Linked DNA regions of Homo sapiens: all the other regions are linked to region 5. Evidence: promoter capture Hi-C in 16 types of primary human blood cells and fetal thymus (Javierre and others, 2016). All regions are on one chromosome and are shown on one strand. Each heading gives the region's core, a stretch centred on a gene start or on the middle of the fragment in contact. The rest is flanking DNA. Distances are from core to core; before and after follow the strand shown.

Evidence for each region. Contacts are between HindIII fragments. The CHiCAGO score rates a contact against its expected background, and 5 or more counts as called.
Region 1: a contact is called between a fragment that was not itself captured here and the fragment with the promoter of SNRK in region 5, in 1 of 17 cell types (total CD8 T cells). The highest score is 6.3, in total CD8 T cells.
Region 2: a fragment that was not itself captured here is called in contact with the fragment with the promoter of SNRK in region 5 in 1 of 17 cell types (fetal thymus); the score reaches 5.4 in fetal thymus.
Region 3: a fragment that was not itself captured here is called in contact with the fragment with the promoter of SNRK in region 5 in 1 of 17 cell types (neutrophils); the score reaches 6.1 in neutrophils.
Region 4: a contact is called between a fragment that was not itself captured here and the fragment with the promoter of SNRK in region 5, in 3 of 17 cell types (neutrophils, naive CD8 T cells and total CD4 T cells). The highest score is 6.2, in neutrophils.

The regions. Positions count from the first base shown.
Region 1 is chr3:43,455,251-43,459,982 of GRCh38, forward strand. The region is part of intron 11 of ANO10 (anoctamin 10); the gene reads right to left. Among named protein-coding and RNA genes, the nearest start is that of SNRK-AS1, 110 kb to the left of the region's middle. RefSeq lists enhancers at 1-1,032, 1-201. The HindIII fragment of the contact is 616 bases long and covers 1,853-2,468 here.
Region 2 is chr3:43,097,428-43,102,511 of GRCh38, forward strand. The region is part of intron 1 of POMGNT2 (protein O-linked mannose N-acetylglucosaminyltransferase 2 (beta 1,4-)); the gene reads right to left. Among named protein-coding and RNA genes, the nearest start is that of POMGNT2, 6.1 kb to the right of the region's middle. RefSeq lists enhancers at 49-549, 550-1,050. The HindIII fragment of the contact is 3,276 bases long and covers 897-4,172 here.
Region 3 is chr3:43,525,671-43,530,483 of GRCh38, forward strand. All of the region lies in intron 11 of ANO10 (anoctamin 10), which reads right to left. Among named protein-coding and RNA genes, the nearest start is that of ANO10, 94 kb to the right of the region's middle. The HindIII fragment of the contact is 2,900 bases long and covers 42-2,941 here.
Region 4 is chr3:43,429,348-43,434,893 of GRCh38, forward strand. It overlaps ANO10 (anoctamin 10), which reads right to left. Exons shown (of 13, transcript NM_018075.5): 12 at 3,264-3,380. Among named protein-coding and RNA genes, the nearest start is that of SNRK-AS1, 80 kb to the left of the region's middle. The HindIII fragment of the contact is 8,533 bases long and covers 1-5,546 here.
Region 5 is chr3:43,284,131-43,288,907 of GRCh38, forward strand. SNRK (SNF related kinase) reads left to right here and starts at 2,410. Exons shown (of 7, transcript NM_017719.5): 1 at 2,410-2,545. RefSeq lists an enhancer at 2,150-2,650 and silencers at 2,255-2,654, 2,895-2,944. The HindIII fragment of the contact is 7,817 bases long and covers 371-4,777 here.

The sequences.
Region 1 (4,732 bases), core at 911-3,410, 170 kb after region 5:
GGAGAGAGAATGACCATGGAAATACACATGCATGCCAAGCAGCATTGAGGGCTATTTGAGGTCAGTGATTAGGAATCTAAAGTGAGGCAGGCCATGAGTCAGAGGTATGACTGTGGAGGTGGGAGGCTGAGATCAGAAGGAAGACAGGTCAGTGGAGGAGAGGTCAAGGATGTCAGCAGCCATGGATGTGGAAGGAGTGACAGGTACGTGTATTAGAGAGGTTCTGCAGAGAGAGGGGGTGAGTCAGGCCCTTAAGTCCTTGAGGAATGGGGGGAAATGACCTGGGGTAAGCCAGGCTAGGTACTGTAAATCAACTAGTTAGCAGGATAGGAGGGCAGTCTTCCATCTCACAGATCCTTTCTGGGGCCAGCTAATTTAATTGTTCTGACTGGTTGATTATTTCTCCTTTCACCACCCTAAGAACCCCTCTCAAAACTTCACTGGGCTGGGCTGCATGTGTGATCTTTTCCTCAGGGTTTCTGAATAAACTACACTTAAAATTTTTCCAAACACCATCAGTCAAACAAACATTGGTTACAAACCTTTTTTTTTTCCAACAGATTCTGACACAAAGATGAATATATAAAGATATATAAAAATAAATTATAATATCCTGTGGTACATGACGCAGTATTTACTTGTTAGAGTAACATATTCCAGCACTGCTATTCTACAGCAAGTTCAATAAACAACAGGAGCAAAGACTTGCGTTAACTCTAATTTACGATGGGATAAAGAAAAGCAAAAAGAGTAACATTAAAAAACATTTAAGCACCTACTAGGTGATGAAATAATTTCTTTAAATAGAAATTGACATGCTACATTTGCCTACTCCTCAAATAACTTGGGCTGGCTCCCACCCTGGGAACCTGGGCTCAGCAGGTGAGCAGGTACGGCGGTCACCAACACCTGCACAGTCATTAGGAGGAAAGGAAAAGGACGCTACAAAAATAGAATCTTCAGACACTGCAGTGTATAATTAATGATACTCTCAGCTGCATTTTTGAGTGTCACCTTTTATACAAAATGTATATATTTTAAAGCTCCAGAAGTCCTATATTATACTGATGGCACTGAGTTTTGCCTTAAAGGTGCTAAAAATCTGCTAAACCTGGGCATTTTCTTCACCTGTGCTCTGAGGTAAGCTCTTGCACACATCCACAAAGAAGCAAACACAACGCTGTGCATCCTTATGTAGCTCTGGCTTTAGAAGCAAAGAGTTGTCCATCGGTAGGAAAATGGATAAGAAAACTTTGGTGTATTCAGAAGATGGATATCTACGTAGCAGTCAGAAGCAATGAACCAAATTCATACATAGCCACATAGACAGATATCATAAACACTGAGTGAAAAAGAATTAGAGATTCAGAGCCCAAAGCCATGCTCATTAATTACAACACACACAAACACCATAATTTAAATAAGTGAAAGGTGGAAGGGAAGGACATATATCAAATATACCATTGGTGCCTACAAAAGGGAGGGTCACAGATGCAGGAATTAATACAATTACAAAGGTGTCTGCGACATGAAGCAAAGAGTAGGATCATTTTAATTTTGTGTAATTGAGGCGGTAGTGGTCATGGGAAAAGTGGATAGCAGTGTTCTTATGAGTGAAACACAGTAAGTACGGATTTTTCATACTTACAACTTTCTTGTATTTGTTACTTGTAAATCTTGCTCCAGAGCCATCTATAATGTGCCATGACAATGCACCCAACAGTACATTACCATTCTATAAACTTAACATGTTTTGGCACAATCATTTCAATTTATGAATGGTATATAACAGAAACCAGAATAAAAATTGCCAAAAACTAAATTAGCTAATACTAAATCTAATGAAGAATAAAGCTTTGATTATGCTTTGAAATAAAGTCAGGGAGGAAACTAGATAAAAAAGACTCCTTTGGTATTGAACTTGACACTGTGGTTAATAACTTGGCACACAAAATGCCTCTTAGCAGATTGCTAAATACACATATCAAAGTTAACCCTGACAGTTAATAACCTGCTGCAGAAACATGCTTGTATTAGTCCATTTTCACACTGCTATGAAGAACTTCCCTGAGACTGGGTAATTTACAAAGGAAAGAGGTTTAACTGACTCACAGTTCTGCATGGCTGGGGAGGCCTCAGGAAACTTACAATCGTGGCAGAAGGTGAAGAGGAAGCAAGCACCTTTTTCAGAAGGCAGCAGGAGAGAGAAGGGAGCAAGAGAGGAACTATTGAAACACTTATAAAAACCACCAGATCTCATGAGAACTCACTCACTATCATGAGAACAGTATGGGGGAAACCACCCCCATGATTCAATCACCTCCCTCCCTCAACATGTGGGGATCACGGGTCCCTCCCTCAATATGTGGGAATTACAATTCAAGATGAGATTTGGGTGGGAACACAGAGCCAAACCTGCTTTACTTTAGAATACATGTATGTTTCCTATAGACTCCTAATTCATTACAAGCTTTTTGCTTGCCATCTCTAAACTACAAATTACTTTCTAAAATAAAATGAACTGCAAGGAGGAGATCAGTACCAGGTGGAAATCAAATTAACTAATGTGTTCTGAGGAGCTGCCACTTGAAATGCTCAGTGCAACATGGAGAGTTCTGCAGTGGTGTACCTGGGGCTTGAGGAGCTTGTAGTCTGATCAACCAAGATGCAAGGCCCCCAACCCATCCCCCACCCCCTACCCTGTTCCTATTCCTATAGGAGTTTGTGTGGGATCTTGGAATAATCACTTAAGTTTCTTTGTCTCCCTTTCATTGAGTGACACTGAGCTCCAGGCAACAAAGACAGTAGACAACCACATATTGGAAAAGGAGTCAGAACTCTCATTTTGTTCCTAGCTTGTTAACCTATAAAAGGGGAGATGACAATATATCCCCACTGTGCTATATATAATCTTTGTCATTTGTAAAAATTATTAAAACCCTGAAGGCTTGTTATAAATGCTGACCCCGGAGTCCTAGTCAAGAGACCCCCTGCAATGGAGACCACTGTGCAATAAGATCCTTATAGCACCCCACAGATGAATCTCCTTAAAGACAGACACACTTTATAAAAATCTGTTCTAAGAAGAAGTTTCACAAAGAATCCAGGATACCTGTTTTTTCCTTCTTGGAAGGATGTTTCTAGCAATAAGACCACCTTGCCCTGCAAAGTTTTTAAATTTAAGCTGAAATAATTTGATTTGCTCCATCAAATTCCTCCACATCCTCCTTTTACTTACCATAACAATAAAATATTCTGAAAATATTTCTACATAGGAAATATTTCTACAGGAATTCTCTTATGCATTACAAATTCCTATTAACATCAAATGAAGACACCATAGACAAGAAATGCAGAGAGCTTTCAATCTCCCATTAGGCTTAAACCGACTTCTTTTTTCTCTTTTTTACTTTAAGTTCTGGGATACATGTGCTGAACGTGCAGGTTTGTTATATAGGTATACATGTGCCATGGTGGTTTGCTGCACCTATCAACTCGTGATCTAGGTTTTAAGCTCTGCATACATTAGGGATTTGTCCTAACGCTCTCCCTCCCCTTTCCCCCTACCCCTGGACAGGCCCGGGTGTGTGATATTCCCCTCCCTGTGTCCATGTGTTCTCATTGTTCAGCTCCCACTTATGAGTGAGAATATGTGGTGTTTGGTTTTCTGTTCCTGTGTTAGTTTGCTGAGGATGATGATTAAACCTATTTCTTATACGCCACGAGCTTCCAAATCAATGTCTCTACAACAGTAAAACAAAGTCTCTGAGCCCCTTGAGTTATGTGTAACCAGGTGGAACATAAATATATGAGAAGAGAAAGGCAGCACTGTTTAATGCCATTAGGTGGGCTCTAAGAGCAATAGCTAGCTGCATGTGTCACTATCATAGGGTGGCACTTCTCAATTTTTTTTTCCTGACTCACTTTCTGTCCAACCACCACCACCCCACCTCCTGCCACTAAGTTGTTTTTATCTTTTGTTCTCTTCTTTCGGTAGCCACAACTTGCTCCAGGATTCGGTGTTGTTGAAGGAAAAGGACCAGTCAGTGCTCAGATTCCATTTCTACCTGATGCACTTCCCTAGTAAATGGAGGATAACCAAATTGAGCATCATCCAATTCAGTAAGTAACAAACAAGGTGGTATTATCAGAGAGAGGGCCACAGATAGTCTTCTGTGAAGAGGCTAAGGGTGAGGGAGGGCTTGCTGGCAATGAAACAAGGTTTCAGAGGTCTCACAGAAATATCTGCCAGTAGAAGAATGACTTGTGGAGAGGAAGGTCCAAGTGCGGAGTGAGGAGAACATGGCCAAGAGGTGACATGGCTAAGAGGCATGATGGAGCTGCCAGTTTCTCAGTGGGACCCTCCTGAGGAAGGTGCTTCCCACTGGCCCAGAGCTAGTGAGTGCTTCCTGCCAGTGCCTGTCTGGAGCTTCTGCTCAGGCCTCCAACCATTCAAGGGGGAAAGTGCTTTTTGGGCCTCAGATGGTAGGAGTTAGTGAGGGCTCGCCCATGGAAGGAGGGACTGAGCTCCAGGCTGGTGGGTTAGTTTTAACACTTCCACCATCATGGTGGAACTACATAGTTGGTACTACTGTTATCTCTATTTTAAAAAACAGGCACAGAGAAGTTAAACAAGTTACTCAGGGTCACAAACCAGTAAATGGCAGCATGGGATTAGGAATCAGGAAAATTATAAACTACTATATAAAGAAGTTAAAAAGAATGCTATGCA
Region 2 (5,084 bases), core at 1,285-3,784, 190 kb before region 5:
GAGGCTTCTCTTCCTGGCTTGTAGATGGCCTCTTCTCTGTGTGGTGGGGAGGGAGGAGAGGGGCAGGTGAGCAAGGGGGAAAGGGAGGGAGAAAGGAAGCCGGGAGAGGGAGGTGGGGAGAGAGAGAAACACTCTGATCTCTTTTCCTCTTCTTATAAGGACACCAGTCCTATCAGATTAGGGCCCCACCCTTATGACCTCATTTAAGCTTCATTATTAGGATGATCTATCTCTAAACACAATCACAGGGGGGTTAGATCTTCAACATATAAATGGGGGGAACATGATTCAGTCCATAGCAATACTCTTCTGATTTTCCCAGAGAAGCAAAAATCTATTTAAAATGTGAAATGTCCTCATTTGTAACTTCTGGCAATTATTCAAATTGAGTGAAGACAACGTGCACCAAGGCCTGGGGCTGCTGGCCTCATGGTTGCCAGTTAAAAACGGATGCTCATTTGCAAGCTCTGGTCTAAAGCAAATCCCCTGTCCTGCTGGCCTCACCATGGCCTGTGCCCGGGTTCCCAGTTTTGTGACTGCCAGAACCAGCAGCTCACCGGTCACTCCTCCACAAGAAGGGTTACAGAGGTGGAGGGACCAGACAGCCAGCACCTGCCAGACCCAGGCTGCAGAAGATCAGGCAGGGCCCAGGCCAGGAGGGGGTCAGCAACGGTGCAGAAGGTTTTATATTTTACTTTCACAGCAATTTGACTTTTAAGGATTGTTCACACTTCCAATTGAAAATTATAGAAATCTTATTTTGTCACTGAAAAGTGTTTTTGTCCTAAATGCAGCCTGAAGTACTAGTGCTAGATTGTGGAAGCTTTCAGTCCTGTATTGATTTGTTGTCTTACATGTTGTAAATTAGTAAGGAGTAAACATGTTTCACTAACTCAAGCTTATCCTCAGAATGATCTCTTTCCCCCTCCTTTTTTTTTGGTTATCTGAAGTAGTATATGGAACTGGTATTAATAACATAATGCTTACATTTGCTCCTAAATTAAATATTAACCTAATGCTATTGATAAATTCGGCATTTATAGATCAGGTTTTCTGACCAAGGTATTTATCCTTTGGCAAAATCTTGGCAGTCTGAGTGGTTCTTGTAAAACTTAACACATTTAATTATCAAGGCATATTTAACATTTAGTTAAGGGCTCACTTTCTTAGATTAAAACTTTGACATGGGTAGTATCTTCTTGCTTTAGAATAAAGAGCAAAGCAAAGTCAAAGCTGGAGACATTAATCCACCATCAATAGCTGATGACTGTGACTATATTGCCTTATCAATAGAAAAGGAACCCCTTCAAAGCAGGAAAAACTCCAACAGAATTCAAGTCTGTACTACTTTGGTGAGAAGGGTGATGTCAGTCTTTGCTGAGGATAAACCAAGGCTTGAGTGTGGGGCAGGACGTTCGGCCTTCCACCAGCTCATATGCAACCCTCTCACCGGTTTTCAGCCTCCAAATAACGCAGAAACCTTTGCTTGCCACACAGCCTGCCGTGTCATCTGGCTTTTGCTTAGCACAAATGGGTCACCTGGAAGTGACATGTGCCTGTATTGGTCCTCTCTGGCATCACTGTGTACCAGTGTGGTCATAAACGGGGATGAAACAGGGAACAGAACGGTGGGAACCTCTGTTGTGTGGCTCACAAAGGTAATGGAGAACACGCCTACACCAGGTTTTCTAGGTGGAACTACAAAATCAAATGAAAACAATTCTTACAGGGAATGCTCAGACCCCAGTGTGTACACAAATCCAGATGGACCCTCAGGCCCAATTTGAGAGGGTTGAACTGATCAAGAGAGCCAAAAACACCCAGTATAGGAAGCATAAAACATTCACAAAGAAACACGAGGAAGTGTGCACAACAAGAGATCATCCAGGGAAGCTGGCTGGAGGGTGGGTGAGTTTTGAGCAAGTTTTTGGAGGTGTTTTGGTGGTGATGGAGGATAAGATGAGCATCTCTGTTATGTGTCTACATGTCCCAATTACTCATGACTGCTACAAATCTGTCTGCAGCAAGCATCACTGTCTAGTTCTCACAAATGTCCAGCAAACCATGAGGCCTCCAAGCCATGGGCAGTGATGGCCAGGCCCAAAGCCATGTGCAGTTCAGTGGGCACTGCATACCCAGACAGGTAAAGGTCGGGGAGCCCAGGCTGTGGGGCAGGCACAGAAGTGCCAGGGAAGGCAGGAGATAAAGCTGCCAGGAGACCTGGGTTTCAACAGTAGAGCCCTATGGGCTCAGGTGACTACTTGCAAAGCCTTCTGCAGGGTGACGCTTTATGGCAGCCAGGTCCCTGCCAGATACCCAGGGACCCTGAGATCCCACATCAGCAAGCAGAAGGAGGTGACAGAATTAGGCTGAGTTTTCCTTTGGTCTCATTACCACCATGTCACCCTCAACTCCTCCCTTTCCTAATAATAATGATATTATCATAGCTAAGATCTACTGGCCAATCACTAGGTGCCAGATTCTTCACTTTGCAATGATAATCTTTATTTTATAGATGGTAAAAATCAAAGCTCAGAAAGGTTAGAAAGCCAAGTTTACAGAGGAAGCAATGATAAGACTAACCCAGGTAGGCTGGCTACAGGGTCTGCGATCTCCTTCTTTTTATCTGGAAATAATTTTAAATTTACAAAAAAAGTTGCATGTATAGGACAAAGAACTCTCCTACACTCTTACCCAGATTCACCAACTGCTAATTTGACATCTTTGTTTAATCATTCTCTCTATATGCAGTCAGCCCTCTATATCTGCAGGTTCTGCATATGTGACTTCAACCAACTGTGGATCAAAAATATTCAAAAAAAACTTAAAAATACAAAAAAAGTATCAATTTAAAAACAATATAGTATAACAACTATTTACATAGCATTTACATTGTATTAGGTATTATAAAGAATTTAGAGATGACTTAAAGTATACAGGAGGATTGTGTAGGTTATATGCAAATAATGACACCATTTTATAACAGGCACTTGAGCATCCTTGGATTCTGGTATCTGTGGGGGATCCCGGAACAAGTCTCCCTGAGGAGGGCAACTGTATACAAATTCTCTCTCTTTTCTGAATCATTTGTAAATAAGTTGAAGAAATCAGGCCCCTTTAGCACTCAATACTTTAGCATGTATTTTCTAAGAATGAAAACATTCTCTCACACCACAAAAATTAACGAAATGAATATTGATACTATAATGACAATGATATTATTATTAACATATGGTTTCTATTTTCTGGTCCAGAATCCAGTCCAGGATGAAGCATGGTATCCAGTTATCACCGCTCTCTAGTCCCTTCCGATCTGGGGTAGCTTCTCAGTCTATCTTCAACTTATGATCTTGACAATTTTTAAGAGTCAGGGCCAGCTATTTTCTAGTATATTCCTCAATGTCTGATGTTTTCTCATGATTAGGTTCAGGTTATGCATTTTCGTGAGGAATTAGAGTCTGTACAATTAGTCATTAATACAACCCCACCCTATGTGAGTCTTTCTGGGACACTCACCTTGGGGCAGCCAGGATGAGGAAGGACTGAGAACCCCTATACTGTGTAGGATGCTAGAAGGAGTAGGGCCACTTTACTGGAGAAAAGAAGCCCCTGCACCCATGGTGTCTTCAAATACCTGAGTTGCTGCACAAGAGTGAGGCTGCTCCTGAGGAGTGGATGCAACCCCTTCTACCTGACTGGACACACATGCATGATGGTGACACGTGCAACCCAAGCCCTAGGCACAAGTGTGGACTATGGGCACATATGATTCCCATTCTGTCCTGCCCAGCACAGCTGTGCCAGCTGCTCAGGGACCTAGAGTAAGAACTGCAAAAAGAAGTCATGGGGAGGTGGAGCTCAGCATGGTCAGTTGGAGGAAGACTTTCCTAAAGACTAGAGCTGTTTGAGCATGGAGGAATCAGCTACTTTGTAGGGCAGTGAGCCCCTGCCTGGAAGTGGTCTAGCAAAAAACAAAAACAACCCATGTGGACTACTCCACAGCGGGGATAGGGCTGGCCATGGTGTCTTCCAAAGCAGGACTCAGTGGATCCGTGGACCTGTTGTAGCAGTATCACCTGGGATCTGAGAAATGCAGAATCCTGGGCCCCACTTCAGACCTGCAGAACCAGAATCTCTCTGAGATGAGGACCCAGGAACTTGTGTCTTAATAAAGCTTCCAGGTGATTCTTGCGTGTGCACAATACTGAGGGGAACTGCTCTGAGGTTCTTCTAACATTTCACAATTTTGCGATACTCAGCAAGGCATTTCTATCTAGCCCAGGTTAAACAACTAATTCAATTGAGAATAACCCTCCCCATAAGTATCAGTAAAGGCTAAATAAATTCTGTTCCTACCTTTTGCTAAGATGATGCATAAGCCTAAGCTCTGGGACAATCTGAGAAGTCCGCCAGACTCTAAGCTCCCTTTTGAGACAAGTTGCCCCAACCCATTCCTTCCCACACAAAGTGCACCATTTGTGGTGTGGGAGTGGCAAGAAACGAGTCCAGGTCTCTTGGCCACAGCTAAATGGACTAAGGATGGAGTCTGGGTCTAAAGCAGCCACCAGTAGAGGACATAGGGAGATGGCCATCCCTGCAGGCCAGCAGAGAGGAGGTAGGTCCCCCGAGAAAGAAGCCCCTGAACAGAGCAAATTTGGACAGCATCTCCAGTTCCTTACAATGGCTACTGTGTGACTCTCTTGGAAGCTCTGGGACCCAGCACAACTGTGGCAACTCCAGATGCCACTCCAGGATGTGCCATGATTCCTGCCACAAACCTCCACTGTCAAAGGACCCCGGGGTGTGTTTCATCACTGGGTGTGGCAATACAGCAGACCAGGTCCCCAGTCCCTTCCTAAGGCTTAGCTCAGGGCTGAGGAGCAACTACACAGCAAAGAAGGGGCCTTCTCTTAGCCTTTTCAGAATGGAGAAAACAGATAAATTTGTAGCATAAGCTTGTACCAATGGCAGTCACCACTGGCAGAGTGAAAGATCTGATTCTCTTAGAGGTGCTGGAGTATGTACCAGTGCAGACATGGGAAGCCAGAGAAAACAAAAGGACTTGTCCAGGTTAACTAAGAAAA
Region 3 (4,813 bases), core at 242-2,741, 240 kb after region 5:
GTTTTGTCTCTCTTCTTTCCTCTTTCTAAGTTCCTAAAATAAGCTTGCAAGTGGTGGTGAAGGGAGCTGATGCATTTTCAAAGAGCGGTGGCCCAGTTTTCAAATTTGTTCCTCTCCATTGTGAGTTTTCCTCCTTCTGTTTTCAATATCAAAATGCCTCAATTTATGAGAAATCTAATGACAGTTGGTCACTTCAAACCTCAGATTTTCTGGAAATCATTCCTTCTAAATCCAAGGGTCTGCTGCCACTGTAGTGTACCAACAACATCGCTCCACTTTGGATTTATTTAGTTGTTTTGCAACAGAGTCATTATTCTATCTTCAAATGACAACATTTAATATATTCTAGCATATTCACATAATATACTTAGAAAGTATTAAGTAAAAAAGTCATTAAATGCAGTACACTTAGAGAAATAAAAGCACTTGAATGATGAAAATGATGAAACCTTAAAAAGGCTGCCAACTTACTTCTTTAGTCAGGGACATGACTAACATATGGACTGTAAAATTACCTTTCCCATTTTAGATTCACTTTCAGAATTAGCAACATGTTAATTGTCCTGTGCAGCCACCAAATCTTTAAATATCTTTATATTTTATTAATCTCTCTAATCAACCATCATTTTGACAAGTTCCTCACTGGATTTAGATATGCAACATGTATGATTATTTTTGTAACACTAGAAACAGGGCCTCTGTGGAGTCTTGTGGCTCTCTGCCAGCCACGGAGAAGCGTCAGCATGCATGCCCACACGGCAACACAGAGGATTAACTGACCAGGGAAACAACTGCTAAAAGAGCACCAGAGTTGGGAAACAATTTCAACATCCTGAGACGATTGAAAATATATCAAGAGAATGTATAGTATAACATATACAGAATTTAAAGAGGCAAAACTAAATGGCAATTGATGTCAGGAAAGTGGTTATTTTGGGTTGGTGGTGACTAGGAAGAGCATGAAGGGGCTTCTGGTAAAACGTCCTATGTCTTATGAATATGTTCACTTCTTGACACTTCATTCAGCCTAACATTCATAACCAGTATCTGTATCTATGCTACACCTTAACAAGCAATTCCTTAAAATATTTTGAATATTTACTTAAGATAGCCTATAAATAATATAGAATATAGCATCTATATTCTTATTTTAGCCCTACTTTAATCAGTAACAGCAGAGGTCCCTTAAGTTCTCTTAGGGTCTAAAATAATCTCTAGTCTACTGGTTGACCTCAACAATAATGAAAAACAGTATATATTTATAAAATACACACATACATATGTGTGTGTATACATATATATACACACACACATATGGTACATACAATGGTACATATATATATATGGTACATACAATGGATGTAAAACACACACACACACACACACACACACAGCATGCTTCTATTTAGTGGCTTGGGGCAAAGTTACACAAGATTTAAATCATAGATTTATGGACTCATCTGTGTAAACTGATTTCTGGGAAAGATTTTCACATTGTGTCCAATGGCTGTTTGTATATTTATACTAATTCTATTTCAAAATGCCCCTTATCCAATTAAACTATTACAACATATCCAGCATGCTCCTTACAGATGACATATTAGAGGTTTACCATTATGTTAACAAGAATAGATTTTGTAATGAACTAGGTATAAATCAAAATAAGTATGATAATTCAAATAATATAAAATAAAATATGCTGCACACTAAACAGAAGATGAAGTACTCTTTAGTTCATATATAAATATATTTAAATTGCCTGAACACACCAAAATGAATTCAATTTTTTCTAGATATAATAACATTATTACAGAGTTCTGGGTTCTCATAGGACAATGGAGCCGTCTAAATCCAAATCTCTCCATATATACTCAAAACCAAAAACAAACAGATCAATAGGAAGAGAAGACAAACTAACCATTCCTCATACCTACAACATTAACTAGGAGATAAGCAATGGCATGAACTTCGTGTTACATGAAAATAGGGAAATAAACATCCAAATCCAGCAAGACTAGCTCCAAAGCCCACACCTAAGTGGCAAGTCAAGTCAGACACTATGAAAGAGAGGGAAATAGAGATCTAGCGATATTGGAACACAGATAAAATCACCCCCAGAAAAAGAAATTTTCACTAAGAAAAGGTCTGTGAACTGCTAGATCAGAGAGTTTCTAGAGAATCAAAAGGATAGTGCTTGAAAATGCACAGAATCAGATGTGGTAGTTTTAGGAAGGCACCATTTTGAGGGAAGGATGGGGAGGAAAGATTTACGGAAGGCTCAGGTATCTCCTGGAGGCTGAAGATTATCGGAAAGAAGAAAGCAAAAGGTAGAAATTAACAGTCCTAAAGACACAAGAACAATACTCACACCTCTCACTACCAAGAAGATACTCGTTAAAAGAAACAACATTTTACTATACCAGCAGAAAAGAGTGCTCTCAAACTAAAAAAACTCAGTAAGCTACCCAAAAACTCCTTATTCTTTCCAACAAGAGCTACTATTGCTAGTCTAGGAAAATTTCAAAATGAAAAAAACGAAAAAAAAAAGCAGATAACATCTGTACAAGGTTACTATGAAAATAAAACAGACATTGAGAATCAAAGTATTTCCATTTTTGATTTTGTTCCTCAACAACATGAAAGCAAACAAAAACCAAACAAAACATAACCAGATGAAAGTTATAACTCAATAATCAAACCTGAATTAAATAACCTTAAATAAGCATTTAAGAACATGAAAAAAAACTTCAGATAAGAAGTACAAAAACTCAGATCAAAAATATCTAACAAATGAACAAAATGGAAGATATGAAATGAAAGTGGCTAAATTCAGTAAAGAAAAGGAAGAAGAGAACAAAATCATCTTAGAAATAGTGATAAATTACAAAATGGCAAGGGGGAAACTACCCAAATGAAAATATAATAAGGGACACTGAAGAAAAGCTTGAAAAACTAAGAGGACAAAAATAAAAGAAAAATATGTGTCAAAATGAAAAAAATGACAAGGAAGACAGGCAAAGAAGATCCAACATATAGCTGGAGACTCAGAAGAAAAAAACAGCAGAACACAATATTAAAAACTGTAACTTACCAGCCTGGGCAACATGGCAAAACCCCATCTCTACAAAAAATACAAAAATCAGCTGAGCATGGTGGTGTGTGCCTGTTAGTCCCAGCTACTCAGGAGGCTGAGATGGGAGGACTGCTTCAGCCCTGAAGGTGGAGGTTGCAGTGAGCTGGACTGCATCACTGTACTCCAGCCTGGGCAACAGAGTGAGATCCTGTCTCAAAAAAAACCCACATAAACAAACAAAAAAACCCTGTAATTTAAGAAAATGTTCCAGAAACAAAAGAAAGCCTGAAACCACATTTGAAAGGGCCCATGTGTATCTGTGATCTGAACCAATCAACTCTAAGACATATGCCTATAAAATAATTACACTAATATTAAACACTTGGTCCTCCAAACAAAATGACCAAGTCACTTGCTAAAGGAAGGAAAGCAGATTCACATCAGAGTTTGACAGCAACAATGCAAGACAACAGTGGAGGGGCATTTTCAAGAAATTTCAAGAACTTTGAACCTTTTGAACCAAAGTATTTTAAAATCCAGCCAAGCTGTCCTTCAAGTATACATGTTATAGAACCTAATATGGAACTTATGTTCAAGAACTTGAGAACTCTTCTTGAGAAATCTTTTGCCACTCAAAGTGGGGTTCATGGCCCACAGCATCTATACCATTTGGGATTTTTTTAGGAGTGGGAATCTAGGCCCTGCCCAAGAGGTCCAGGTGATGAGTATGCTCATTATTGTTTGAGAACTGCTATACTGAAGAACACGTTTCATAGAACAAAGGGGAAAAGGAAAACTTTGGCAAGATGACTGATGGCAAGCAACAAAAAGATTTAAACCTATCTAGAACTAAAAAACATATATGTAAATGGTAAACATTCTGACAAAGTAGAAATAGTACAACTGAAATAATGAGAGCAGAAGAGAAAAGGGAGAAAGCAGAATACATAAATTGTCAAGTAGATAATACATAATAAAGGATATTATTTTAAACTGACAAACCAAACAGTAGAAATCTAAGTAAAAACAAAGGAAATTAGGATATTATAGAATATAAAACTATAGAGGTATAAAACTAACTTTCCTAAATACTTGCTCCCTACCAAGGAAAGAAACATGGTAAATATAACATAATACCAGAGTATATATAACATAAAATAATATGATAAAGTTGAGACCAAACATATTCTGCATCTCAATTAATGCAAATGAGCTTAAGACACTAATCAAAAGAAAAATACCTGACACTTTCTTGCAAAACTAAACCCAATTCTATGCTGTATACAAGAGACACACTTAGAGTGATTCAGAAAGGCGAAAACTGAAGATATACTAAGGAAAAATAGAAATTAAGAAGATAGGGGATGCAATCCTATTATCAAAGTGGAATTAAGGTCCAAAAGCATTAAAGAAATATTTTTATAACCTCAAAGATCACAATTAAAAATGAAAATGTAGCAGTTATAAATTCCTATGCACCAAATAACACAGTAACTACATTTATAAATCACAAACTACAACAGATGCTTTCTAACAGGAATACGCTATTGAATAGACTTTAACAACACTCTTAAACCAAAACAAGTGAACGAAAAGTAAGCAGTAATTTAAAAGATCTACACGTTATGTTTAACAGGATAGAGGTTATATAGGTTATATATTTCTTATATAAAACATATAGCCTATATATTATATATATTTTATATATGGTATATATAAACTATAAAGGTTTTCTATATA
Region 4 (5,546 bases), core at 1,227-3,726, 150 kb after region 5:
ATATCTTTTTTAAAAAAGCAAATTCATGGAATTTTATGGTATATACAGACCATAAAATTTACTGTATAGATATACCACGAAATCCTGAGTAACATGAAGCATGATTCTTCCTAGACCTGGAGTTAAGATATGTATGCACCAGCCAGGAAGTTGCCTGCCCCCATCTACAAAATGTCACCAGAAATGCAATCAATGGAGAAATCTGATTAACTAAAACTCTTCCAGAGACAAGGCTGTACATTCAGCTTTTTTTCTTACATACCTCATAAAGTTTTTAGATGCTTTATGCCCTCTCACGCATTTTTAAACTGACACCTAAAATCTTTTAGTCATAAATTCAATAGCTGCAAAAATGTAGGCAGTGTGTATGTGCATGCATAAGCATAGACAGATCTTTTTTAAAAAAGCAGGTTACTGGAATTTTATTGTATAGATATACAATAATTTACTTAACCATTCTCCTATTGAGGAATTTAGTTATCTCCAGATTTTTGCTAATAAAAATGTTTCAATGACTAAATTTTGGTACTCTTTTCAGATACAACCATTACCCTAGTAAGGTTTGTTTGGTGTTGGAGAGTAATTGAAATTAAATTCAACTGCAATTCGAGGAAGACTGAACCAATTTACACTTCTGTCAGTTATATATAAAAGAATGTCCATTTCCCAAATCCAGTGAGGACAGGCTATCATGACATAATCCAATAGAACATGCGAAATGTGGTATTTCACTGGTGTTTAAATTTATATTTCTTTCATTTTGAATGAGGTTGAGCATCTCTTCATATGCTTTCCTTTCATTACTGGACTGTCATTTTTTATAGATTTGTGGAAATTATTTTTTGAATTAAAGATATTGACTTTGTTATATATGAAAATATTTTTCCAGTTTGTCCAATTTATCTTTTGAGTTTGCTTATTTTTTGTCATACAGAAGTTTTCATTTTTCATGTATTTTACTTTATCTTTTTTTTTTTAATGATTTTTGGGTTTTGTGTCTTGATTAGGAAGGCATTTCCCACTAAAAGATACACCCAGACTTTTAATAGACTTCTTATGGTTTACATTTTTTACATTTAAATCTGTCAACCTTGAATTTTGTGGTGGTGGGGAGGTTCATAAGGAATGAGTTAAAATAAAGTATAATAATTTTCCCAAACAGCTGTTTGCCATCAAACTGTGTAACAAATAATCCTTCTTTTTTCCATTGACATAAAATATCACTTTTACCATAAATGAAATCCCCAGTTTTATTTGGGCCCATTTATGGACTCAATGCTCTCTATTCCACTGATTTTTCCATTTCTTCCCTAATTTAAAATGTATTTAATTATAATTATTGTACTATTCAGAATACATTTTAATATCTGACAAGAGTGAGAGTCCCCATTTTTCTTCTTTATCAGAAGTTTCCTTGCTATTCTCAGATGTTTATTTTGATATATTTGAATTGGTATTGGATATTTACAAGATTGAATCTTTTGATCCCAGTAAAGTTTAAAAAAAATTGTTCTATAAGTTATCTATATTGTTTCCATAAATTACCACCTAAGTTTTTACATTTTGGTTTCTTCTGTAAATGTGAATTTTTCATCAAAAATATTTTCAAACTGATTATTTCTTGTGAAAAGAAACACGATTTTAGATAAACTTTGTAACTTGCTTCCTTACCAAATTTTTTTATTTTTAATAATTTATTTTTAGCTATATAATCCTCTAATTTTCTTTTCTTTTTTTTTTTTTGAGACAAGGTCTCACTCTGTTACCCAGGCGGGAGTGCAGTGGCATGATCATGGCTCATTACAGCCTTGACCTTCTAGGCTCAAGCAATTCTCCCAGCTCAGCCTCCCAAGTAGCTGTTACTACAAGCGTGCACCACCATGCCTGGCTAATTTTTGTATTTTTTGTAGAGACGGGATTTCACCACGTTGCCCAGGTTGGTCTTAAACTCCTGGGCTCAAGGGATCTACCCACCTCAGCCTCCCAAAGTGCTGGGATTACAGGTGTGAGCCACTGCACCCAGCCTAATCCTCTGATTTTCAAGTAATGATAATCTTGCCTCTTCTACTTGAACTTATCTCTTCCTCTTATACAACTGCTTTGGTTAGTACCTCTAGAAGAATGCTAGCTGTCAGTGATGATGATGGATTTTCTGCCATTGCTGGGAATGCTCTGGAGTTTCATTATTGGGCATGATGCTGGGTTCCGGTTTACCATATAGACACACTGGCTAGCCCACATGCCAAAAGTGAACTTGCCCAACCTCTAGGAATGCAGGTAACTTAGTCTTGTCACCTACTGTGTGGCAAACATGAGCACAGCTATGGCTAGTGGGCCTGGGTTCATCCTCTTTTCCACATTCTTATCACAAGTCCTCTTCTGGAGTCACCCTGCCTCATCAGGGCAAGTATTGGTTTGATGTGGGGTTCTCCTGTCCGGCGCACTACCCTTGGAGCCCTCAGGCTTTGATCAAAGGGTCATCTTAGGTGGGTCCTCTTCACGTTCTTTTTTTCTCCCCACTCCCCAAATGTAAGAAGAAATATTTCTATGCATAGTGGTTTGGAGGCCAAAGAAGGAGTATGTGTCCAGGAGGTTCTGCCCAGAGCTTGTCCCCTCAGATGGCAATGCCTTACTGATTCTCTCATTTCTTAAATTCCTATGCAGCACTAAAGATAACAAGTGAGAGATACTCCAGGTGTCTAGGGATCTTCTGTCTACTCCCACTCTCCTACAAGCAGAAAATCACCAAAATGGTCAACTCCAGCATGGCTTTTTTTTTTTTTTTTTGTAGTCTCTGGTAGAATGTGGAAGTCACTGAGGCACAGTTTCTCCTTTCAGGGCAATTTTGCTGCTTCTACACACCTGATCTCATTCTGTCTCGCTCTCTGAAAGCTATTATTCAGGATTTTATTCATTCACTTCTCCTCACTTAATGTTTCAGTAGATGGCAAAACTGGAAGCTGTGGGGAGCTGCCCCAGGTTGATTCTTAGATGTCTGTCTTGTTCTTTTGCTGAATGCTAGCTCTATTCTTTATTTAACATTGCCTGAATATTTTTGTTTCTTTAGTTTAGTTATTTAAACCTATTTGTTGCTCATATTGTTAGGATTTTGGTTTTGTTATGTCATCCTGAACTGGAGTCCTCTGTATTCATTTAAACTGGTAACTTCAAGGCTGAAAAAAATGCTGAGACTGATTCTTCTGAATTATTTTTCCTGTCATTTGCTAAAGCAATACATACATTTTCAGGACAGCTGCTCTCACCTGCTGCTTGAGTGCCTCCAAAGACTCAAATTCCAGTCTGGCTAGTTTCATCTGGATATGCCGTGGCTTATCAGGTATGGCAAATGCAAGTATAAACTTTAAAGCCAGGAGTGCGTGCTGAAAACAAGAAAGAGTACATGTTGATGTGATACATCAGACCATATATGCAAGGAAATAAATTGATATCTAAGCAATCTAGGATTATTTATATTAATCTTGGGTAATTTCTAAGTATTGGCCTGTGAAGTATCAAAGACCAAGCAGGCCCATGAGTTGTACTGAGTGAGTCCACCCTGTTGTGGTACATTCAGTAATTACTGACTTTGCTTAATTCTTTTTTTTTTTTTTTTTTTTTTTTTTTTTTGAGACCGAGTTTCATTCTGTTGCCCAGGCTAGAGGAGTGCAGTGGCACGATCTTGGCTCACTGTAACCTCTGCCTCCCAGTTTCAAGTGATTCTCCTGCCTCAGCCTCCCGAGTGCACCATCACACCTAACTAATTTTTTTTGTATTTTTTAGTAGAGACGGGGGTTTCACCATGTTGGTCAGACTGGTCTCAAACTCCTGACCTCAGGTGATCCACCCACCTTGGCCTCCCAAAGTGCCGGGATTACAGGTGTTGAGCGACCACACCCAGCCAACTTTATTCTTTTTAAAACCAGGTATTCCTGTAAACTGATACCGTAAGGGTACCCTCAATGTTTTATAGAAAAATGGCTTATTCTGAAGTCTTCCACAAACTCTTTTCTAGAAACGCATCTTAGTATACAATATTTGTTGTCACTCCACTCTCTGCCCAATGTCCCTGTGCTGCACTTCAGTTTGAGTTACATGAAACGTACATGTATCTTAAAAATAAGGTGTCATGAATCCTCTAATCCCATAGCATTTGGTGCATTTTCTTTTATGATGTGATAATAAATAAAGATTAATTCAATGATTGTAACTTTATGCTGCTGACTCCATATATGGTAAGTACACAGACATTATAATATGGAAAACTTAAAACCTGGCTATTATTTTTCCTTCTCACACAAGCATCATAAAGAAGTCCTCTATAACATAATGATATGAGATGTATAATTAAGCCAATGGTATTGCTTCCCTTGGTAATCCCGCTGTTCAGATGTATAGGCTCAACCTACTGATACTTCTCCGAATCCAGATCATCTTGTGATCCAGAATCAACACCCACAGAAATCTAAGTGATCAAAGGATAAAGCTGCCTCTGTGGTGACAGCATGAGTTACTAAATATTAAAAGTTGTGAATTTTAAAAGAAATAATTAAAAGGCATTAAGAAAATCAATGAGAGAGATGGAACAGCCTTTAAGAAATGTTGCATTGAATTATTGACAGAAAAAGGACAGTTGAAAAAAATTAAATGAATTTCTTACTGTGATATTTCCAAAAGGAGAAATGAGGGATAAATAACAAGCAGATATCTCCTGGGAGAAGCATGAAATAGTGAAGGAAATCAGCATGATGCCAGAACAAGCAATAATTTAATCAGAAGACTTGAAAACCAGCAGAACCCCAGGACAGGCTAAGCAGTGGCTGGTATTAACAAGAGACAAAGAATAGACCAGGGACAGACAGCCTTCATGTAAATGTGACTGCCATGACCAAAGATGACACTGGAAGATACTGATTAAGGGTCTAGAGTAGGAAAACAAGTAGATAATACAGCATGGACCAGATGATACCCTATGTTGAAATTCTGAACTAACTGAATTAATAAAAACCTGGATATAATCTCCAAAGAATACATGAATAATTCAGAAAAGGCTATGCTGTACTGTTATTTCATTCCATTAGAGTACTGAGATATAATTTTATACAAGACAATCTCTTCAGTGGAAATATCAGACAAGAAGTACACAAATTAGTAGATAAAAATAAATCTTCCATGTATTTCAGAGTCTGTGTGGGCTTAAGTTGCCAGAGCCCTACATGACATGACAAAGTCATGGCCCCTTTCCATCTCTCCTAATAAATCTGTACCCATTTCCTCTTCCTCAGAGCCTTGGCAGGAATGAAAAAAACAAAATATCCTGCTGAGGAAGGACATGCTTCCCTTGGATGTAAGGCATCTGGAAGGTGTAAACTCTCGTTTGGGAACCAGGACTGGCTAACAGGTAACAGAACAAGTAGGTAACAGAACAAGGCTGCCCAGATTTTGCTGCTGTGGTTTCCATGCGAACTGTTCACAAAATTCTCATGAATTGAAAAAAGTTGGTATTGATTAGACAATATTAATCAAAACAGGATGCCATTTTAAACATT
Region 5 (4,777 bases), core at 1,160-3,659:
GGAATGTTGTTAAATAAAATGTCACAACTCAAAATTGAACTGTGTATGAATATTCAATGTCTGTTGTTTTAAATACATTTATTTTAAAATTTGAAATAAATTACAAAAACTAACAATATCCAGAGAAGATAACCTTGTTACATATGCTGCTTTTGGGGTTCCAAAGATGAAAATGACAATTCTTTCATCAGTCTGCTCAATTTTCACATTTTGATCTAATTTGTGGCACCTCCCTGGTTTCCTTCCAATAAACAACATCTTCCTTAAACTGGTGGCATTATGTTATTTTTGAGATCTGAATCACAGAGACTGTAATACAAGCAAGCATGCTTCATCTTGTCGTTTTGTAGAATGCTGTACATCTAATTAAAGCTTCTTACAGGTCCATAAAAAGACCCAACATTAAAAAAGCAGTGTGTTGGAGAAAGCCCCAGGGCAGAGTGGAAAAGGAGTTTCTTCATTAACTATAAGCACATTTGCTTAAATTCCAACTTAAGTAATACTATTAATTTGTACTTGAATATCTTAAAATATTGCCGAAGCATAATCAAATCATGTCACCACATTTATGGTGTGGAACCAAAACTGGGTCATATTCTTGCCAGCAGCACTTCAGCTACCCAAGAAATACTGGGGATGAATAAATGATTTACCATGTGGCCAGTACTGCGTCCTTCTCTAGAAGAGTATTGCAGCCAACTTCATTTAAATCAATTTATTATTTTGCCCTTTTTCATTTGTTTTGCTCTTTTATGCCTTGTTTTCCTTAGAAAATTTATTCAAAACCTAGTTAAACAGCAGCAATATAAATACTTTATTTTTCAAGAGCTTATATATTATCGTCATTGTTCTGTAGTTACTGATATAACTCAGGGACTACAGACCCAGGGGTGGAGGCCTTCGACCACTGGAAATCCCTTGGGAGACCATTACAGTGGTATTTTCTCCCTTTAGTTGGCTACAGAGTTCCCTGAATAGTGATATCTCCCTGAGGAGAAAAGTGCATGGTCTTCCTGATTTCTAGCAACAAAAGGACAAATTCTACAAATCCAAGTTAGGAGCTCTTGCTTAATATGCTGCTACAGTTACGATTTCCATGTCAAAATGAGATGACTCTTTTATGGTCTTTTCAGGTCAGAGTGATCCCAGGTGGGACCCTAAGGCGCAGAGGCCTAATCTGAGGCTTTCCCTGGTGCTCTCCCACCACCTGATGCAAGGGTATTAGGGTAACTGGGAGTCCCCTTGATCAGAAAACCCTATGTTATTACCCTAAGAATCAAACTGTTTGCACCTCCCAACAATCCACTCCTGCTTCCCAATCATCTTCAGACATGCAAAGTTGATGCATAGAAGCTAAAAGGCTTTTGACATTTGCAGGTCAACAGAGATTTGCTAAAACCATCTAGATTTCTCTTCGCAGTCCAGTCAATTCAACCAAGCCTGCAGCATCTCCGCAGCTCTTCTGGCTTGTGTCCTTCCTTGCTAGGGGTCCTTTCTTGGGGAAGGGTGGACACAACGTGGGAACAGAAGGGGAAAAGCAGGTTGAAGAAATCTGGCGTCTGGTTTGTTGGTGTTCCCTTCCAGGAACCCTGAAGAGCTGGTCTCTATTGCATGCCATGCTTCCAGGGGTGGGAGTCGGGAGTCCCCTCCCACCCTCTGCGGCCATCCCTAAGCTCCCTTCCAGAGCAACCTGGCCTGGCGACCATACCACTGAACCATCAAGGGCTATGGTTAATGCCCGGCGTGTTTTGAATCTCTGACTTCACGTGCTTTGATGTGTCCCCACGACCGTTTACTTTTCTATGCTGTTGCCAGAGGCTGCCTAGCAGGGCCTGTGTCTCCCGCTGACCTTTAAGGCCAGCACTGCATTCAGATGTTGGGCTTTTCCAATTTTGCTTAAATAACAACAAAATCAACCGAATTTTTTCAAATTAGAGTCCCAGGGAGAAGAAACTACAGAGAAAAAAATCATATTATGTATATATATGTATATACATATGTGCATGTGTGTATGTATATGTATTTTTACAATTTTTTTATCCTTGTTTAAACCTGGGCGGGAACCAAAGAGTAAAGCGCGTGCGGCTCCCTGCCCCCTGCCGCCAAGACGCAGTCCTGTACAGACGCGGTCCCTTCCCTCCGATTTCCCCTGACAGCTCGCGCTACTTTTTCCCGGCCATTGTTCCGTGTCCCTGGTGCTTCCTCCTCCCCCGTCCTCCATCCTCCTTGGGCGCCTTGCCCGCTTTGTCCCGCCAGCCGCCTCAGCCCCGACTCGCCGGGGTCAGAAAGCCGCCAGGATGCCCTCCAGCAGCCCGCGCGCCGGCCGCAGGTGCGCGCCGCCCCGCCCTGCCCTTCCCGCGGCCCCGCCCCAGCGCTGACGTCACAGTGACGCGCAGCCCGCGCAGGCGCAGCTACCCGGCACCCCCTCCCCGCGGCCGGCAGCCCGCTCGGTATTATGATTAGCGCTGGGTGCGGGGTTTCGGCGGCCGGGAGGGAGTTGTCGGCGCCGCGGCCGCTGCGGACGGACGCTCGCCTGCCGGCTGAGGTAGGGGCGAGCGCGGAGCGCGGCGGGGCGCGGCGGCCGTAGGCAGGGGTGCGGGGCCGGCCTCCGCCGCCTCAGTAGCCTCCGCTGTTGCCGGGCTGGGCGCCCGGGCCGGGGCGCTCGCCGCAGGCGGAAAGTAAGTTGCGCTCTCGGCGCCGGCCGCAGCGCGCGGCCCGGGAGGACGCGGGGCCCGGGCTGCGGTGGCCCGGACCCCGCGGCGCGGCCTGGCGGCGGGGCGGCGGCGGGGCCCGGCGGGAGCCGTCACTGCGGCGGCGGCCGCGGTCGCCTGGAGGCCCTGCCCTTGCGGCCGCGGCGGGATTGCGGCACCTCGGAAGGCGCCCGCATCCCCGCGCCCCGCCCCGGAGCGGGCCGAGTGCGGCGCCCGCGGGGCCCCGCGCCCTGGGCGCTTGGTAGGGTGTGTGTTCTTTGAATGCGTTTTCCCCTTTCAGAAGACTGTAGAAATCCGGCCTCAGCAAAAGGGTTCCGTGGTCAAACTGCTTTACAATAGAGTGGGGATGTTGTCTGTAGAGAAAGGGCAAAGGGGTAAGGAAAGAGGAGCAGTGCCATTCCCGAGGGAGAGCTAGAATTTTTGCAGACTGGGAGACTGGGAAATCTACGTTCTTTTCCATAGTCATCGCCTGTTGATTTCTTTCTGGTCCATTTTACAGGGACCTTCCTGCCTTTTACTTGGACTTGGGTTGCAGGAAAGTGGCAGCCTTTTATCTTCGGGGTTCTTGGAGCTGTGCTATTTGTAACTGTTGGATCGCATACAGTCCAGTAGTTTCATAGGGAGTTTCAGGCTTTGGGGAGAATTTAGCAGTGGAGTTCCTAAATCTATAGAGGTCTGAGGATATGGGACCTTTCAAACTGTCATGTTACTTTCCACCCCCCTTCCCTTTAATTATGTGCATTCTTAAAGTCTTAGGAACCGTGGTAAAGTTGACTTAATGCCTTAAACATTTTGTCAGGTTTTAAGGTGAAGCATGGCTTGCAAGTGTTGGACATCCTGTTGAATCTCCACCAAGTTCCTATCAAACATGAAATGCCTGAGTTTGGGCTCCTTGTATGGGATTGGAGCACTATGTCCCAAACCAGTCTTTAACTTATCAGAATATATACAGCAGTGTACTTTAAAGCCCGGGTTGTCAAGGCTTATGTAATCAGTTTGTTAATTTATAATCTCGTTACATTGCTTTCCAGATTTATAAAATAATTCCCTTAAGGAAATCTGTCCTCAACGTCTGCTTAAATATTTCTCTTGGAATTGGATTCTTGAAGAGGAATGTACTGTACAAGTGATGATTAAAGCATACTAATTAGACAAGTTTCTTTTTTTAAAGAACACCAAATACCAAATTTTTAATCTGATTATCTGTGTAATTGTCCTTGAGAGGAGAACAGGTGGACATTCCCATTTTACAGAACTAGAAATGAGAGAAATTACATGACATTTCCAAGGTCACATATTGAAGCAGTGTAGAAAGTCAGGTGCACAGTGCTAACTTTTTATAATACTCTCATCCTGAAGGCTTTTCAGGCAGGAAACTTTCAGTGCCACCTTTCAATTTTTTTTTAAATTTGTATAATCAGTTTTTAATTGTTCATTTTGTGCACAAAAATTACTCTCACCGTATTTTTTAATAATTCTGAGTATTTTTTTCTGTTTTACTGCAGTAAGATCCATTAGTCTAAAACATGCTAGAACTCAGAAGTTGTACTAATTTTATTTTTCTAGACCAGAAGTATAGGTTGGGTCTTTATGGTTTAGATTTAATCACATAATCCTAAAAGAAAGGCTTTTAAATGTCCTTATTAAAATTGAAGGGCTTTCGTGATATTTTTACTGGTCACAGGAAATACTGTTCATCTGAACTTCACTGTGAGTACTTCCCTCATACAGAAAGTGAAACCAAATAGAAAAATATTTATTTCTGGAGATACTGAGCAGCCATGGTTCTAAGTACTGGTATAAATAAGACATGATTTCTTCCCTGTAGCAGCTTGTCTAATCCTAAGAGCTCTTTACACTGCCCAAGAAGAAAAGGGTACAAATGAACTTTCCATAGGCCAGAATCTTAGGAATTAAAAACCGTAGATGAGAAACTCTAGACTTAATGTAACTGCATCCCAGCTGTTTGCTTAAAGATAGAGTGTTTATAACTAAGATGCTTTAGTAAGAAAACTGTTATTCAGAATTTAGGTATTTCCCAGTGTGTATCTATGTGCAGGTAAACT